Linked DNA regions of Homo sapiens: all the other regions are linked to region 1. Evidence: promoter capture Hi-C in 16 types of primary human blood cells and fetal thymus (Javierre and others, 2016). All regions are on one chromosome and are shown on one strand. The core of a region is centred on a gene start or on the middle of the fragment in contact, and the rest is flanking DNA. Distances in the headings are between cores, read along the strand shown. Region 1 holds the start of ZNF700 (zinc finger protein 700). Region 2 has its middle 11 kb from the start of ZNF709. Region 3 holds the start of DHPS (deoxyhypusine synthase). Region 4 overlaps ZNF564 (zinc finger protein 564). Region 5 holds the start of ZNF564 (zinc finger protein 564).

Region 1 (3,162 bases), core at 626-3,125:
TCTGATCAGGACCTCTTTTCCTGGTAATACAAGCAAGAACTTAACTTCCAGTTTTGGAGTACTGAGTCTATTTCCCTAGAGTCTGTGTTTTTCCCAAATGGGCCACTGCTATCCTTCCGCTTGAATAAACTCTTCCAACTGAAATCTTGACCTTTCTATTATTTCGGAGTGACAAGTCCAAATAAGGCAACTGCATCTCTGCAACCAATCAAGCATTTATCTGGTTTGTCTCCTCACGTAACTTATAAAAGCTTACCCCTAAACTGGTAAACTAAAAATAAAAACATACCTCTGGCCCGGCGAGATGGCTCACATCTGTAATCCCAGCACTTTGGGAGGCTGAGGTGGGTGGATCACTTGAGGTCAGGAGTTCGAGACCAGCCTGGCCAACATGGTGAAACCCCATCTCTACTAAAAATACAAAAATTAGGAGGGCATAGTGGTGCATGCCTGCAATCCCAGCTACTCAGGAGGCTGAGGCAGGAGAATCACTTGAACCCGGAAGGTGGAGGTTGCAGTGAGCCGAGATCAGGCCATTGCACTCCAGTCTGGGCGACAGGAGACTCCGTCTCAAATAAAAACAAAGTACCTTTCCAGCTAAGTGAAGTGACCGGCTCTTGGCCAACAGGACCCGCAAAAAACCCTGAAAATTGAGTGCCTCTGTATGACAGGATGGGAGGTGAGACAGGTCTCCTTATACCCTCTCCCACACATTCATGTAAAAATAGATAGAATGGAAAAACAGACTGCTTGTGGCAAGAAGATACTAACTTACAAACAAAACCTAAGGCCACGCAAGGCAAAAGTAAAGTCACGCCTCAGAATTCATAAAATCTAGAGAAACAGGTCTGTTTTCTGGCTGGGATGGAATCAAGTGGCAGATAACAGACCCCCTTCCTTCCTACCTCCTCCAAACTTTAGACAAACTTCACACTCTCAACCAGCTGCCACCTACAGAATCCCTCAACCACCTGTGCCTTCTAACCCCCCTTCCACAGGTCCCACCCTTTCTGCCAATGGAACTTACACCTTTCAGGCACTGATTCATCATTTTCCCTGCAATTCCTGTCTCTCTGAAATGAATAAAACCAAACTGTCTTGAGCCGCCTCGGGACCACTTACTCCAGGCTGCTTGGGGTTGTGTTTCCCTCGGCCAAGGTCTCTCCTATTCGGCTCTGAATAAACTTCTTTATTTTACATAGTTTGGCTTTTTCCGTTGACAAACCACAACCCAGGACGGGGTGTTTCTCATTCGTGAATCGCTGTTTGCTCAAATGAACTCTTTAATTGTTAACGTACCTCAGTTTAATTTTTAACAGGAGAAAGTGGGGACTGGGGGCCCCACAGACCACTGCTCCTCCCACGCACGAACCCCACACCCGAGTCAGGATGCCTCCATGACCCTCCCGTTGCTTCCGCACAATCTGGGGAGACGCGGGGCTGCGGGAGCGGAACTGCCCAGAGAGGGCTCCGGGGCAGGGGCCGCGGCCGCAGTCGCCGCGCAGGGACGGGACAGGACGCCCGGGTCCTGGCTGCTGGCCCAGCCCCGTCCAGCGGCCAAGGGGACCGAGGGCCGAACTGCTCAAGGAGGACTCGGTCCCAGACCCCGGAGTCGCCCACAGGGAGGCCCGGGTCCCGCCACAGCCGGTTCCCGCCTGTTCCAGGCAGCCCCTCCCCCGTCTCACGACATCTGGTCCCGCACACGCACCATTTCCCGGCTTTCAGATGTACCGGGGTCCTCTCTACAGCTCCTGTGACTACAGCAGGGCATAGCGCAGGCGACAGAGCGACAGAAGCCTGGGTACAGGCACCAGGTCCCTCTCGGGCTGGTCTGACCGGTTACCAACCGCCGCCCGCGCAGCGAGGAAGGTGAGGAAAGCGACCCCCTCCATTTCCGGATGAACTGTGGGCAGTGCCACGCCCCAGCACCTCTGATTGGATGAAATACTAGGTCCCGCCCCCCACATCTGAGTGACAGCTGAAGCCCTGGGTATCAGGCCCCGCAGAGCCAGACTGACGGATTCTAGCCACAGCTTCTCTAAGGGCGAGCTGCTTTCTGCACTCTGGTTATTGGATATTTGCATTTCAGCCAAACTTGCTATTGATAGAAGAGAACACTAGCGTCATCCTCACTCAAGGGACAGTCCCCGCTCCTTCGTTCTGCACGGGGTCACAGGAGTGTGCAGGGAATTTCAGACTCAGTGTCCATAGGAGCCAACTGCTGGCCTCAGAGCAGCAGGGGAACCGAGACCAGGCCAGGCACGACTGCACCAGGAGGAGAGGCATATGTCCTCGAGCGGGCCGGAATTGGGGATGAGGCGTGGCCAAGCCTTGCTCACACACCCCCATCCCCTTGTGAAAATGCTTCCTCCTTTCAGATCTTCATTTTCACCAGCAGGAAACTCTCACCAGGTTTTGTTTCTGACCTAAGTAAACTGTCAACTTCATGAACCCTTTATCCAGGTGACGCCACCAAACAATTCTGTCTCTAGCTCTAGCCTGATCTTCACACATTTTCTTTTCTTTCTTTCTTTTTTTTTTTTTTTTTTTGAGACGGAGTCTTGCTCTGTAGCCCAGGCTGGAGTGCAGTGGTGCGATCTCGACTCACTGCAAGCTCCGCCTCCCGAGTTCACGCCATTCTCTTACCTCGGCCTCCGGAGTAGCTGGGATTAAAGGCGCCCGCCACCACGCCCGGCTAATATTTTGTATTTTCAGTGGAGACGGGGTTTCACCGTGTTAGCCAGGATGGTCTCGATCTTCTGACCTCTTGATCCGCCCGCCTCGGCCCCGCAAAGTGCTGGGATTACAGGCGTGAGCCACCGCGCCCGGCCACACATTTTCTTTATCTATACAAATAACTCTGACCCCAACGACCCCATGCATGTCAAACCCCAAACCCTGCCCAGAAGACAGCTCCAGAGGTACAACACCAGAAAGGACAGAGACGCCACAAATGCGTCTGCACATGGGTCTTCTGCTTTCCAGGGCTCTGCAGCTTCTCGGAATCCACACCCTTTCTGGAGCTGCTCTGAGCAGCTGGAGGCCACTTGTAGAAGGGGGTGGGCTGCCCGCGAAGCCCCCAGGGAAACTCTCTTTCCCTCCCTTTGCAGGCTGCAGAGACTGTCCTCAACGTGGAATCACTGGCCTTGGGCTCTGCTGCCC
Region 2 (3,379 bases), core at 213-2,712, 570 kb before region 1:
CATTAACACCATGTCCAGGAGACAGAACTTGTAACTTTCACAGACTTTTTCAATATGGAAAAATTACACCACGAGTGTACCCTAATGTGAAAGCAAAACTCAAACCTAATGTCTAAAAGTAGACCCAAGGAAACTACAATTACAACCTAGACAATTAAAACCCTCCCGGTTCTCCTAAAACCGCGTGCGGTTCCCAGCATTCCAGTGCTCTGTAGCTTCTCTCTGTATAAAGAGCTCTTTCCTTGGTGGGTGAGAGCAAGTAGGACACTTTTGGGGAAGGCTCCCCAGGAAGACCCATCTGGGCTTTCAATGACCTCCCTTTGCAGGCTCAAGAGTGGTCTTAGCTTGAAGTCACTAGTCTCTGGCTGCTGCTCCCCAGTCATGGGGCTTTCAACCGCTATTGATGTTTATTTTTTTGAGACAGGGTCTCCCTCTGTCACCCAGGCTGTAGCGCAGTGGCGAGATCATAGCTCACCGCAGCCTCGACCTCCAGGGCTTGGGCTTAAGTGAGCCTCCCACCTCAGCCCCCTGAGTAGCTGGGACTACAAGCACAGGCCATCATGCAGCTAATTTTTGTATTTTTAGTAGAGACGAGGGTTTCACCATGTTCGCCAGGCTGGTCTCGAACTCCTGACCTCAAATGATCCACCCACCTCGGCCTCCCAAAGTGCTGGGATTACAGGCGTGAGCCATCACGCCCAGTTGAAAGACGGGAACTTTCAAAGTTGCTTTTCTGGTAAAAGTTAAAGCAGAGGGGACTTTCTTTATCATGTTGGCTAAAACTGGCCTGTTGGGGATTTGACCAGCATCTCTTTCTCTCCTGATAATTTGTAAGGTCAGATAAACAACTTAGTTTCAGCTTGGTAGCGAGGAACGTCCCCGTGGGTAACTCATTTTGGTTTGGTCTGTTGGGTCTAGTGCAGGAGCTCAGTCTAAACCAATGGCTTCCTACAAATTGTATTTAACAGGGCAAATAATAATATTATGAATTGGAGAGGGAAAGCTTCATTTGGAATGAAAGAAGGAATTGGCAAATTTAGGGATTTCCTGTCAGTCCTAGGAAGAGCTAGGCTGGAAAACGGGGTCGTGGATTTGAGATCCTGTTTTCACACGTTTGTAAAATTAAGGGGCAAACCGGTCCCCCTGGGGAAAAAGAAGAGACTGGGGACCCCACGGACCACCGCTCCTCCCACGCACGAACGCCACACTCGAGCCGGGATTCCTTCTCTCCTATGACCCTCCCGTGATCCCCACACAATCTTGGAAGACGCGGGGCTACGGGCATGGAGCTGCCCACACAGGGCTCCGGGACCCGGGCCTCAGTAGCCGCGCGGGGACAGGACAGGACTCCCGGGATCCTGGCTGCCGGCCCAGCTTCACTCTGCGGCGGGAGGAGGCCGAGGGCCGAGCTACGCCAGGGGGACTCGGGTTCACAGACCCAGGAGTGGCCGCGGGCAGGCCCGGTTCCCGCGACAGCCGGTTCCGGCCAGCAGCTCTTCAGGTCTCGGGATTCCAGGCCCCGCACAGTCACCATTTCCGGGCTTCCGCGGTGTCCCCACCCCCTAACTACGACTCCCTCTGCCAGTGCGGGTCCCAGAGCGACAGAGGCTGCGGCAGAGCCACCTAGCGACGTTCGAGGCAGGAGAGACACAAACTGGAAATCGCGCCACCGTATCCACGCGCCTTTGTACAGGGCGGCCCCACCCACCGCTCCGGCGGCGTCTCCAATTGGACAGTTTGTGAGGTTCCACCCCCTGTTGCCTGAGTCACATCTCAGACGGAGGTCAGGTAGCTGAGCGATCCAGCTTCCACTTTTGTCCCTGAAACTGTCCTGCCAGAGACATTTGCATTATACCAGAACTTTATATGCTAGATATAAAGGCCCTCAGACCGGACACTGGCGTTTACCGAAGAAGCTTCTGAACGGGGACATAGGTGTGCGCGCAGGGAATGCCAGACAAGAGTTTCCAGATAAAGCGAACCCCTTGATGACTGACTCTTTGAGGAGTAAATCCACAGCAAAAGGGCCCTGGAGGCAAGGCCATACTGGATCAGGAGAGTCAGATATTCTCCAGAGGACAGTGGCTTGGCATCATGCTGCCAGGACACTCAGAACTGTGACCCCGTAGGTTCACAGAGACCAGGCAATGTTTACATTTTTAATTTTAAGTTTTGTTGTGGGTACATAGTAGGTGTATATATTTATGAGTTACATGAGATATTTTGATGTAAGCATGCAATGCCTAATAATCACATCATGGTAAATGGGGAATCCATCAACTCAAGCATTTATCCTTTGTGTTACAAACAAGCCGATTATACTCTTTTAGTTATTTAAAAATGTGCAACCAAATTATTTTTTACTATAATCACCCTGTTATGCTAGCAAATACTAGGTCTCATTCATTCTATTTTTTGTGGCCATTAACCATCTTCACTTCCCCTTCCCCCAACCCCCGCACTACCCTTTCCAGCCTCTGGTAACCATCCTTCTACTCTCTATCTCCATGAGGTCAATTGTTTTAATTTTTTGCTCCCAAAAATAAGTGAGAACATGTGAAGTTTGTCTTTCTGTGCCTGGCTTATTTCGCTTAACATAATGACCTCTAATTCCATCCAAATTGTTGCAAATGACAGGATCTCATTCTTTTTTATGGCTGAATAGTACTCCATTGTGTATTTGGAACATTTTTTTTTTAATCCATTCATCTGTTGAGGGACAGTTAGGTTGCTTCTAAATCTTGGGGATTGTGAATAATGCTGCAATAAACATAGGAGTGCAGATATCTCTCTTCAATACATGGATTTCCTTTCTTTGGGGTATTTACCTAAAAGTGGGGTTGCTGGATCAAATGGCAGCTCTATTTTTATTTTTTTTGTGTGTGTGGAACCTCCAAACTGTTCTCTATAGTGGTTGTACTAATTTACATTCCCACCAACAGTGTACAAAGGTTCCCTTTTCTCCACATCCTCTCCAGCATTTGTTACTGCCTGACTTTTGGATAAAAGCCATTTTAACAGGGGTGAGATGATATCTCATTGTATAATAGTTTTGATTTGCATTTCTCTGATGATCAGTGATGTTGGCCTTTTCATATAACGGTTTGCCATTTGCATGCCTTCTTTTGAGAAATGTCTTTTCAGATTTTTTGCCTATTTTTAATCCGATTATTAGATTTTTTTTTTTTTTTTTTTTTTTTTTTTTTTTTTTGAGACGGAGTCTCGCTCTGTCGCCCAGGCTGGAGTGCAGTGGTGTGATCTTGGCTCACTGCAAGCTCTGCCTCCTGGGTTCACGCCATTCTCCTGCCTCAGCCTCCTGAGTAGCTGGGACTACAGGCACCCGCCACCACGCCCAGCTAATTTTTTTTTTTTTTGTATT
Region 3 (3,280 bases), core at 20-2,519, 760 kb before region 1:
AGACAGCGCAAGACTCTAGCTCAAACAAACAAACAAACAAAACAGCAACAACAACAACAAAACCATCCTCCCCTCCCGAGGGGACAGAACAGAAACGAATGGGCGAGTGCCGGGCCAAGCAGTGGGTCTCCAGCAGGTGGCATTAAAATAGGAATTTTGGCTGGGGACGGTGGCTCACACCTGTAATCTCAGCACTTTGGAAAGCCCAGGCGGGCGGTCACCTGAGGGCAGAACCAGCCTCGCCAACATGGTGAAATGCCATCTCTACTAAAAATAAAAAATTAGCCAGGCCTGGTGGTGGGTGTCTGTAATCCCAGCAACTCGGGAGGCTGAGGCAGGAGAATCGCTTGAACCAGGGGGGCAGAGGTTGCAATGAGTCAAGATTGCACCACCGCACTCCAGCCTGCGTAACAAGAGCGTGTAACTCTTGTCTCAAAAATAAATTAAATAAATAAATAATAAAAATAAAAAAGAATCTTCATTCATGGGAAGTCGAGAACACATGAAAACAAGTAAAGGCCGAAGCGCAGTGGCTCACGCCTGTAATCCCAGCACTTTGGGAGGCTGAGGCGGGCGGATAACCTGAGGTCGGAAGTTCGAGACCAGCCTGACCAACAGGGAGAAACCCCGCCTCTACTAAAAATACAAAATTAGCCGGGCATGGCGGTGCATGCCAGTAGTCCCAGCTACTCGGGAGGCTGAGGCAGGAGAATCGCTTGAACCCGGAATGTGGAGGTTGTGGTGAGCTGAGATCGGGCAATTGCACTCCAGCCTGGGCAACAAGAGCGAAACCCTGTATCAAAAAAAAAAAAAAGAAAAAAAAAGGAAGAAAAGGCCTAAAGGCGCCGGGCGCGGTGGGTCACGCCTGTAATCCCAGCACTTTGGGAGGCCGAGGCGGGCGAATCACGAGGTCAGGAGATCGAGACCAGGTGAAACCCCGTCTCTACTAAAAATACAAAAAAATTAGCCGGGCGTGGTGGTGGGCGCCTGTAGTCCCAGCTACTCGGGAGGCTGAGGCAGGAGAACAGCGTGAACCCGGAAAGCGGAGCTGGCAGTGAGCTGAGATCGCGCCACTGCACTCCAGCCTGGGTGACAGAGCGAGACTCCGTCTCAAAAAAAAAAAAAAAAAAAAAAAGAAAGAAAGGGCCTAAAGGCTCCTCGCGGCTTCCGTATTACGGAACACACGCACAAAAATGGCGGCGACCTGGTTTACAGGGGCTAAAAATGGTCACGTGATAAACCAACTTCCGGTCTTTCGCCCAAAGCACGTTCCCTACTTCCTGTGCTCTTGCGGAGACGCGCGCGTCGGGGTTTAACGCGTTTCTGGGCCGCCGTAAGCCCGGCCTAGGGGCAGCTTTGACTCGAGAGCCGGCTATAGGCGCATGGAAGGTTCCCTGGAACGGGAGGCGCCAGCGGGGGCGCTGGCCGCCGTGCTAAAGCACAGCTCGACGTTGCCGCCCGAAAGCACCCAGGTCCGGGGCTACGACTTCAACCGCGGTGTGAATTACCGCGCACTGCTGGAGGCCTTCGGCACCACCGGCTTCCAAGCAACCAACTTCGGGCGCGCTGTACAGCAAGTCAATGCCATGGTGAGGACCGGGCGGAATTTCTAGGGACGCGGAGGGGCGTGGCTTGTAGAACCAACGCGGTACTAGACGGGGGCAGCGTTTCCAGTGGAGGGGATATGTCTTTTATTTGAGTTGCCCAATAGTTGGAGGAAGGCGGGACCTATTCTGGGCGGGAGTTTCTGTCCTGGGAAGGGGATTTTGCACTCTGGTAGTTACATGCTGGTACGGTAACCTGAGGAGGCGAGGACTGATTCTTGGTGTGGGGGCGGGTTCTAGGTACATTTAAAGCTTTCTGGAATGGGCGGAGCCTGGGGCAAGACAAATTAAGGGAGGATATGGGAGGAGGAGCCTAAGTCTGGGCGGTTCTTGAATTTAGATTTGCTTTTCCCAGCGGGGAAGGGACCGGATCTGAAAGGAGATGCTCTCTGATTCCTAAAAGGGTGGGGGCTGGCTGGGCGCGGTGGCGCATGCCTATAATCCCAGCATTTTGGGAAGCCGAGGCGGGTGGATCAAGAGAAGAGGAGTTCGAGACAAGCCTGGCCAACATGGTGAAACCCTGTCTCTACTAAAATGCAAAAAATTAGCCGGGCATGGTGTTGCGCGCCTGTAGTCCCAGCTACTCGGGAGGCTGAGGCAGGAGAATCGCTTGAACCCGCGAGGTGGAGGTTGCAGTGAGCTGAGATTGCGCCACTGCACTCCAGCCTGGTGACAGAGCGATACTCTGTCTCAAAAAAAAAAAAAAAAAAAGGCCGGGCACGGTGGCTCATGCCTGTAATCTCAGCATTTTGGGAGGCCGAGGCGGGCGGATCACCTGAGGTCGGGAGTTCGAGACCAGCCTGACCAACATGGAGAAACCCCGTCTCTACTAAAATGCAAAAAATTAGCCGGGCATGGTGGTGCGCGCCTGTAGTCCCAGCTACTCGGGAGGCTGAGGCAGGAGAATCGCTTGAACCCGGGAGGTGGAGCTTGCAGTGAGCCGAGATCGCGCCATTGCACTCTAGCCTGGGTAACAAGAGTGAAACTCCGTCCAAAAAAAAAAAAAAAAGGGTGGGGGCAAATCCTGAACGTGTGTCTTGAGATCTGGTCTGGGAAGGGGCAGAGTTTACACAGGAGATGTTCCTTGGTCCCCTGTAGAACTGGTCCTGTATCCCTGAATGTGCAGGGCCTGGGGTGAAATCTGTTTCTGGAGCCCACCTGGAGTCCTGAGTCTGGGATTTAAGGCCAGTGCTTAACTTGACTTGGCCCTTACTCACAGATCGAGAAGAAGCTGGAACCACTGTCACAGGATGAAGACCAGCACGCGGACCTGACCCAGAGCCGCCGCCCACTTACCAGCTGCACCATTTTCCTGGGATATACATCCAACCTCATCAGTTCAGGCATCCGTGAGACCATTCGCTACCTTGTGCAGCACAACATGGTGGGGACCTGGTGAGGCCGTGGCCTTGGCCTCTGGGTCAATGGGCAATGCAGTTATTGATCGTTTAAGTGAGATGGGCAGATAGGGGTCTGTTATAAGCAGAGGAATAGAATCAAGTTTTGTTTTGTAGCAGAGCTCCCTCATAAGAGTCACTGGACAAGGATGAGGTTAGAAGTTCTGCCCAGAATGAGGGCAGGGGCTTCCTTCTTGGGCCAAATTCACTGCCTTGTGGCTGCAGGTGGACGTATTGGTGACCACAGCTGGCGGCGTGGAGGAAGACCTCATCAAGTGC
Region 4 (3,136 bases), core at 95-2,594, 600 kb before region 1:
TGACAAGATAAAGCAATGTCTCCTTCTTAGTATGTCATGAAATTTTAAAAATAAGTAAACAAACCAGTAAGCCCAGCTTCAGATTTATTTATTCCTACAACTTTTTCACCAGAAAAAGAAAAAGTGGCATAGATGTTCAGTGTTGCAAAATCATTCACTTGGAAATAGTATTAAGAAACTGTATATATGGATATCACTTTTTTGGTGATAGCTACTGTCAAGCTCTCTTGCAGAGCATTCCATCCATTCACTTTCAAACAATTCATACAGGCCTGAAAACTTACCCTTTCCGCGATTATGGTAAAAATGTAAGTCGAATACCTATTAATAAATATAAAGTCACAAACCACTAAATCTTGCTTTCTATTTTTTCCAGAAATCATATGGAAGAGGGACTCAGTGAAAGTAAAGAATATGATCAATGTGGAGAAGCCTTCAGTCAGATTCTCAATCTTAATCTGAACAAGAAAATTCCTACTATAGTAAGACCATGTGAATGTAGTTTGTGTGGGAAAGTCTTCATGCATCATTCATCCCTTAGTAGGCACATCAGATCTCACCTTGGACACAAACCATATGACTATCAGGAATATGGAGAGAAACCATATAAATGTAAGCAGTGTGGGAAAGCCTTCAGTTCTTGTCAATCCTTTCGAAGACATGAAAGAACTCACACTGGTGAGAAACCCTATGCATGTCCGGAATGTGGGAAAGCCTTCATTTCTCTCCCAAGTGTTCGAAGACACATGATTAAGCACACTGGAGATGGACCATATAAATGTCAGGAATGTGGGAAAGCCTTTGATCGCCCAAGTTTATTTCAGATACATGAAAGAACTCACACTGGAGAGAAACCCTATGAATGTCAGGAATGTGCAAAAGCTTTCATTTCTCTTCCAAGTTTTCAAAGACACATGATTAGGCACACTGGAGATGGACCTTATAAATGTCAGGAATGTGGAAAAGCCTTTGACCGCCCCAGTTTATTTCGAATACATGAAAGAACTCATACTGGAGAGAAACCCCATGAATGTAAACAGTGTGGGAAGGCCTTCATTTCTTTCACAAATTTTCAAAGTCATATGATTAGGCACACTGGGGATGGACCTTATAAATGTAAAGTATGTGGGAGAGCCTTTATTTTTCCCAGTTATGTTCGAAAGCATGAAAGAACTCATACTGGGGAGAAACCCTATGAATGTAATAAATGTGGTAAAACCTTCAGTTCTTCCAGTAATGTTCGAACACATGAAAGGACTCACACTGGAGAGAAGCCCTATGAATGTAAGGAATGCGGGAAAGCCTTCATTTCTCTCCCAAGTGTCCGAAGACACATGATAAAGCACACTGGAGATGGACCTTATAAATGTCAGGTATGTGGTAGAGCCTTTGACTGTCCCAGTTCATTTCAAATACACGAAAGAACTCACACTGGAGAGAAACCCTATGAATGTCAGGTATGTGGGAAAGCCTTCATTTCTCTTAAAAGGATTAGAAAACATATGATACTGCACACTGGAGATGGACCTTATAAATGTCAGGTATGTGGTAAAGCCTTTGACTGTCCTAGTTCTGTCCGAACACATGAAAGAACTCATACTGGAGAAAAACCCTATGAATGTAAAGAATGTGGGAAAGCATTCAATTATGCCAGTTCCATTAGAATACATGAAAGAACTCATACCGGAGAAAAACCCTATGAATGTAAGCAATGTGGAAAAACGTTCAGTTATTCCAGTTCCTTTCAAAGACATGAAAGAGCTCATAATGGAGATAAACCTTACGTAAAGAATGTGGGAAAGCTTTCATTTATCACACAACCTTCGAATACCTGTGAAAATGAATAGTGGAGGACAGGTCTACAAGTATCTACATATCTAAAGAATATGGAAAGTCTTCAGTTTGCTTTCTGGGTTTCAGACTTGTTTGGGAGCTCACCCCTTTCTCCTGTTTCTCACTTTTGGAATAGGAATCTCTATCCTGTGCCTGTCTCATATTTTGGAAATACATGACTAGTTTGGTTTTCACCGGTTCGGAGCTGAAGAAGAATTTTGCCTCAGCATGAATTGAGTCTCATCCATATCTGAGTGATGTGATATTGAGATGACACTTTGGAGTTTGAGTTTAAACATTAGGCTTCATGCTGGAATTAACTGAGACTTTTGAGGCCTTTGGGATGAGATGAATATATTTTACATGTGATGACATGGATTTTGGGGGCCAGAGGTGTAATGTTTTGGCTGAGTGTATGCCACCTCAGATTCATATGTTGAAACCTTACCCCCGTGCCCCCCCTCTCCCCCACAATGTGATGGTATTTGGAGGCCCTGTCTCTGGTGGTTTTTAGGATTGGAGGACATCATGAAGATGGAGGCCTTGTAATTGGGATTAGTTTCCTGATAGGAATCCCTAGAGAGCTAGCTTTGCCCTTCACCATGAGAGGGTGCAGTGAGAAGATAGCTATCTTTGAACCGGGAAGCAGGCCCTTACCAGACATGGACTATGCCAGTGCCTTGATATTGGACTTCCCAGCCTCCCAAACCATGAGAAATAAATGTTTGTTGATTAATTAAGCTTTCCAATTTATGGTATTTTGTTTTAGCAACCCAAGCTAAGACACAATCCAATTTTAAAATGGAGGAAAGGACTTGAATAGACATTTCTCCAAAGAAGATACCCAGATGGCCAATAAGCACGTAACAATGCTCGACATCTTTAGTCATTAGGGAAATACAAATCAAACTCAAGACATACATAGCATCTCATTAGGATTAGTAGTATCAAAGATGGAAAACAAGAAATACTGTCAAGGATGTGGAATGTTGGAGAACATTGTGCACTATCACTGGGAATGTACAGTGGTATAAGCCTGCTGAAAACAGTATGGCAGATCCCCAGATTAAAATATAGAAATAACATATGATCAGCATTTCCATTTCTGGGAAAATAAAAAGATTGAAAGCAGGGCCGGGCGTGGTGGATCACGCTTGTAATCCCAGCACTTTGGGAGGCCGAAGCAGGCGGATCACAAGGTCAGGAGATTGAGACCATCCTGGCTAACATGATGAAACCCCGTCTCTACTAAAAAAAAATTAGCCGGGCGTGGTGGCAGGCGCCTGTAGTCCCAACTGCTCGG
Region 5 (3,070 bases), core at 211-2,710, 630 kb before region 1:
GAAAAGCAGGAGACCCATGTGCAGATGTGGTTGGGTTGGGGGTGGAGGGTTCTGTCTTTTCTGAGGTTGTACCTTTGGCGCCTGGGGCCATTTCCTGGACAGTGTTTTGGTTTTAGCATTCATGGGGTCGCTGAGTCAGGCTGTAATTTGTATACATGAAGAAAATCTGTGAGGGTCAGACTCAGTGAAAAACTTGTTTGCATTGTCCCCTGGAGAAAAGGTTTGGGAACATGACAATTTATTTAGGTCACGACTTTACATTGACTCCGGGTGAGAGTTTCCTGCTGGTACAAATGAAGGTTTTGAAGGAAAGAGTGTTTCCACACTGTGAGGAGAGGACTGGAGGGCACCTTGAGCTCCCAAAGTTGAATTCTTAAGTGTCCCTGTCTCATCACCAGGTTCTGATCCACACTGGGGTTCCATTTCAGCAGTTAGAGTCTGGGTCCCAAGCTTGGGATTATTTTATTTTATATTTCATTTCTTCATTTCATTATTTCATTTCATTTCATATTTCATTTTTTAGTCTCGCTCTGTCGCCCAGGCTGGAGTGCAATGGCGCTATCTCGGCTCACTGCAACTTCCCCCTCCCAGGTTCAAGCGATTCTCGTACCTCAGCTTCCCGAGTTGCTGGGATTACAGGCACCTGCCACCACGCCTGGCTAATTTTTGTATTTTTAGTAGAGATGGGGTTTCACCATGTTGGTTAGGCTGGTCTTGAACTCCTGACCTTAAGCAATTTTCTCACCTTGGCCTTCCAAAGTTCTGGGATTACAGGCGTGAGCCACCGCGCCCGGCGCTTGGGAATATTTTTAACGTTATGATTGTGGGTTTTCCTTGTGAACTGCGGGTGAAGCAGGCTGCTTGTCTGAGCTAGTTCAAATGTTTGCTTACTTCTCTTGGTTTCTTTATAGATGATCGCTGTCATAAAAACTCCAGTTTTTCCTATACATTTAATACTTTTATTTCTTTGTCCGTTTTAATTTTCTTGCCTGAAAGAAGCAAGCCCTCCTCCCTCCTGTTACACTGTGGTCTGGCCTGGCCTGGGCGCGCCTCCTACTCCGAGGCCAGGGGATGGCTCCACTGGACGCCGAGTCTGTCATTCCCTGTGCACACTTGTGACTCTGTGTCCGGGAGGAAAAGGCAGGAAGGGCACCCTGAGTGCAGAAACACGCCAGTGTCACCTCTGCAGAGCCTGAAACACTTTCTGCTTAAATGCAAATATCCTCCCCGGCACAGAAGGTTACAGAAGGAGGAAGCCCGGCCCGCGAAGGGCAGTGGCCAAGACCCTGTCAATCTGTCTTTACTCAGCCACATACCGCATTGCTTCTCCTGTCACTCAGTACCAAGGGGGCAGGACTTGAATCATCACCCAATCAGGGGCACTGGGGCGGGAACCTGCAAACCATCCAATCAGGAACTCTGCAAGGGGGACAGGGGCAATGTTCAACAACTCCGCGGGGTCTTCCTGTTTCGTGTCCGCTGCGTTTGGGTTCCGGTCTCCGCTTCTCCAGTGGCCCCGGTGGCTCCACCGCAGCGTCTGGCGCGCTGGGACCTGCACAGGCCGGAGAGAGCCGTAGGCAGGACCCCGGGACACCCTGGAAGCCAGGAAATGGTGCGTGTGCGGGGCCGGGCGCCTGGAGACTGGGGGAGGGGCTTGTGGGAACCGGCCGGAACCGGCTGTGGAAGCACCCTGGCCTCCCTGCAGCGACTCCAGGGTCTGGGACCCGAGTTCCCTGGCGCAGCTCGGCCCTCTGTCCCCTCGGCCGCAGGGTGGGTTGGGCCGTAGCCAGTACCCCAGGCGTCCTGTCCCGTCCCTGCGCGGCGACTGCGGCCTCGGCCTCGGAGCCCTGTCTGGGCAGCTCCGCGCCCGCAGCCCCGCCTCTCTCCAGATTGTTTGTACTGGGACACGGGAGGGTCATAAGGCGGAATCCCGTCTCGGGTGTGCGGTTCGTGCATGGGAAGAGCTGTGGGCTGTGGCCTTCCCAGTACATCGTCTTTTTTTCCGGGGGACTGGTCTTCCTCCGAGTCTTCCAAACGTACTGGAAAAAGAATCTCAAACCTACGACTCCCGTTTTTTTTAGCCTAGCTTTTTCTGGGGCTGGAAATAAATGCCTAAATTTCCGGTTCCTTCCCCGCATTCCCAAAGGTGACCTCCCCTCGCCAAATCAACATTATCAGCTGTTTTTTGTTTGACATTTAAGACACAGTATTTTAGTTGTTTATAGTTTCTTTCACCATACTCTTTTGAAAGGATTTGTTTTCTGTTTGTTGTTTTTTTTTTCTTTTCAGACAGAGTTTCGCTCTGTCGCCCAGGCTGGAGTGCAGTGGGAAGATCTCAGCTCACTGCAACCTTCGCCTTCCGGGTTCAAGCAATTCTCCTGCCTCAGCCTCCTGAGTAACTGGGATTACAGGCATGCGCCGCCACGACCGGCTACTTTTTGTATTTTTGGTAGAAACTGGGTTTCTCCATGTTGGCCAGGTTGGTCTCAAACTCCAGACCTCAGGTGATCCGCTCACCTCCGCCTCCCAAAATGCTGGTATTACAGACGTGAGCCACCGCGCCCGGCCTCTTGTTTGTGTACTTGTAACCTGAGAGGGAAACGGAGAATAAGAACCTGACACTCTACGGTAAAATTTTTTTTTTTTTTTGAGACAGAGTTTCGCTCTTATTGCCCAGGCTGGAGTGCAATGGCGCGATCTCAGCTCACTGCAACCTCCACCTCCTGGGTTCAAGCGATTCTCCTGCCTCAGCCTCCCGTGTAACTGGGATTACAGGCATGCGCCACCATGCCCGGCTAATTTTGTATTTTTAGTAGAGACAGGGTTTCTCCATGTTGGCCAGGCTGGTCTCGAACTCCCGACCTCAGGTGATCCGCCTGCCTCGGCCTCCCAAAGTGCTGGGATTACAGGCGTGAGCCACCGCGCCCGGCCGTGGTAAAAAAATTTTTGTGCTTCCCCTCCTTTTATCTTTCCTAAGCCCCGACGCCTAATCAGAATGTCTTTGGGTGGAGTTTCCCCTTTGGAAACTTTACAAGGTGATGTGGCCCTCTATCTTTTCCTGGTCCTGATT

Evidence for each region. The method cuts DNA at HindIII sites, captures the fragments that hold promoters and counts their contacts. A CHiCAGO score of 5 or more calls a contact.
Region 2: a fragment that was not itself captured here is called in contact with the fragment with the promoter of ZNF700 in region 1 in 10 of 17 cell types (naive CD4 T cells, naive CD8 T cells, M1 macrophages and 7 more); the score reaches 7.8 in naive CD4 T cells.
Region 3: a contact is called between the fragment with the promoter of DHPS here and the fragment with the promoter of ZNF700 in region 1, in 1 of 17 cell types (total CD4 T cells). The highest score is 5.0, in total CD4 T cells.
Region 4: a contact is called between a fragment that was not itself captured here and the fragment with the promoter of ZNF700 in region 1, in 1 of 17 cell types (erythroblasts). The highest score is 5.3, in erythroblasts.
Region 5: a contact is called between the fragment with the promoter of ZNF564 here and the fragment with the promoter of ZNF700 in region 1, in 2 of 17 cell types (total CD8 T cells and megakaryocytes). The highest score is 5.3, in total CD8 T cells.

What each region holds. Positions count from the first base shown.
Region 1 is chr19:11,923,820-11,926,981 of GRCh38, reverse strand. It overlaps ZNF700 (zinc finger protein 700), which reads right to left and starts at 1,875. Exons shown (of 4, transcript NM_144566.3): 1 at 1,709-1,875. The coding sequence starts at 1,771. It also overlaps a transcript of ZNF69 not described here. RefSeq lists a silencer at 1,413-1,612 and enhancers at 2,003-2,112, 2,163-2,212, 1,660-2,232, 2,389-3,162. The HindIII fragment of the contact is 3,475 bases long and covers 254-3,162 here.
Region 2 is chr19:12,493,711-12,497,089 of GRCh38, reverse strand. No RefSeq gene overlaps it. Among named protein-coding and RNA genes, the nearest start is that of ZNF709, 11 kb to the right of the region's middle. RefSeq lists enhancers at 1,467-1,546, 808-1,687, 1,688-2,568 and a silencer at 1,737-1,786. The HindIII fragment of the contact is 913 bases long and covers 1,006-1,918 here.
Region 3 is chr19:12,679,869-12,683,148 of GRCh38, reverse strand. DHPS (deoxyhypusine synthase) reads left to right here and starts at 1,269. Exons shown (of 9, transcript NM_001930.4): 1 at 1,269-1,589; 2 at 2,824-2,988; 3 at 3,227-3,280. The coding sequence starts at 1,383. RefSeq lists enhancers at 1-48, 572-1,094, 1,160-1,454, 1,095-1,618 and cis regulatory regions at 978-1,512, 1,538-2,038. The HindIII fragment of the contact is 4,796 bases long and covers 1-1,858 here.
Region 4 is chr19:12,525,157-12,528,292 of GRCh38, reverse strand. It overlaps ZNF564 (zinc finger protein 564), which reads left to right. Exons shown (of 4, transcript NM_144976.4): 4 at 377-2,920. The coding sequence ends at 1,847. Among named protein-coding and RNA genes, the nearest start is that of ZNF564, 25 kb to the left of the region's middle. The HindIII fragment of the contact is 920 bases long and covers 885-1,804 here.
Region 5 is chr19:12,549,872-12,552,941 of GRCh38, reverse strand. ZNF564 (zinc finger protein 564) reads left to right here and starts at 1,460. Exons shown (of 4, transcript NM_144976.4): 1 at 1,460-1,612. The coding sequence starts at 1,610. It overlaps LINC02926 (long intergenic non-protein coding RNA 2926), which reads right to left and starts at 1,216. Exons shown (of 2, transcript NR_187485.1): 1 at 73-1,216. RefSeq lists enhancers at 1-409, 1,193-1,487, 1,553-1,662, 2,321-2,823 and a silencer at 1,893-1,972. The HindIII fragment of the contact is 25,081 bases long and covers 453-3,070 here.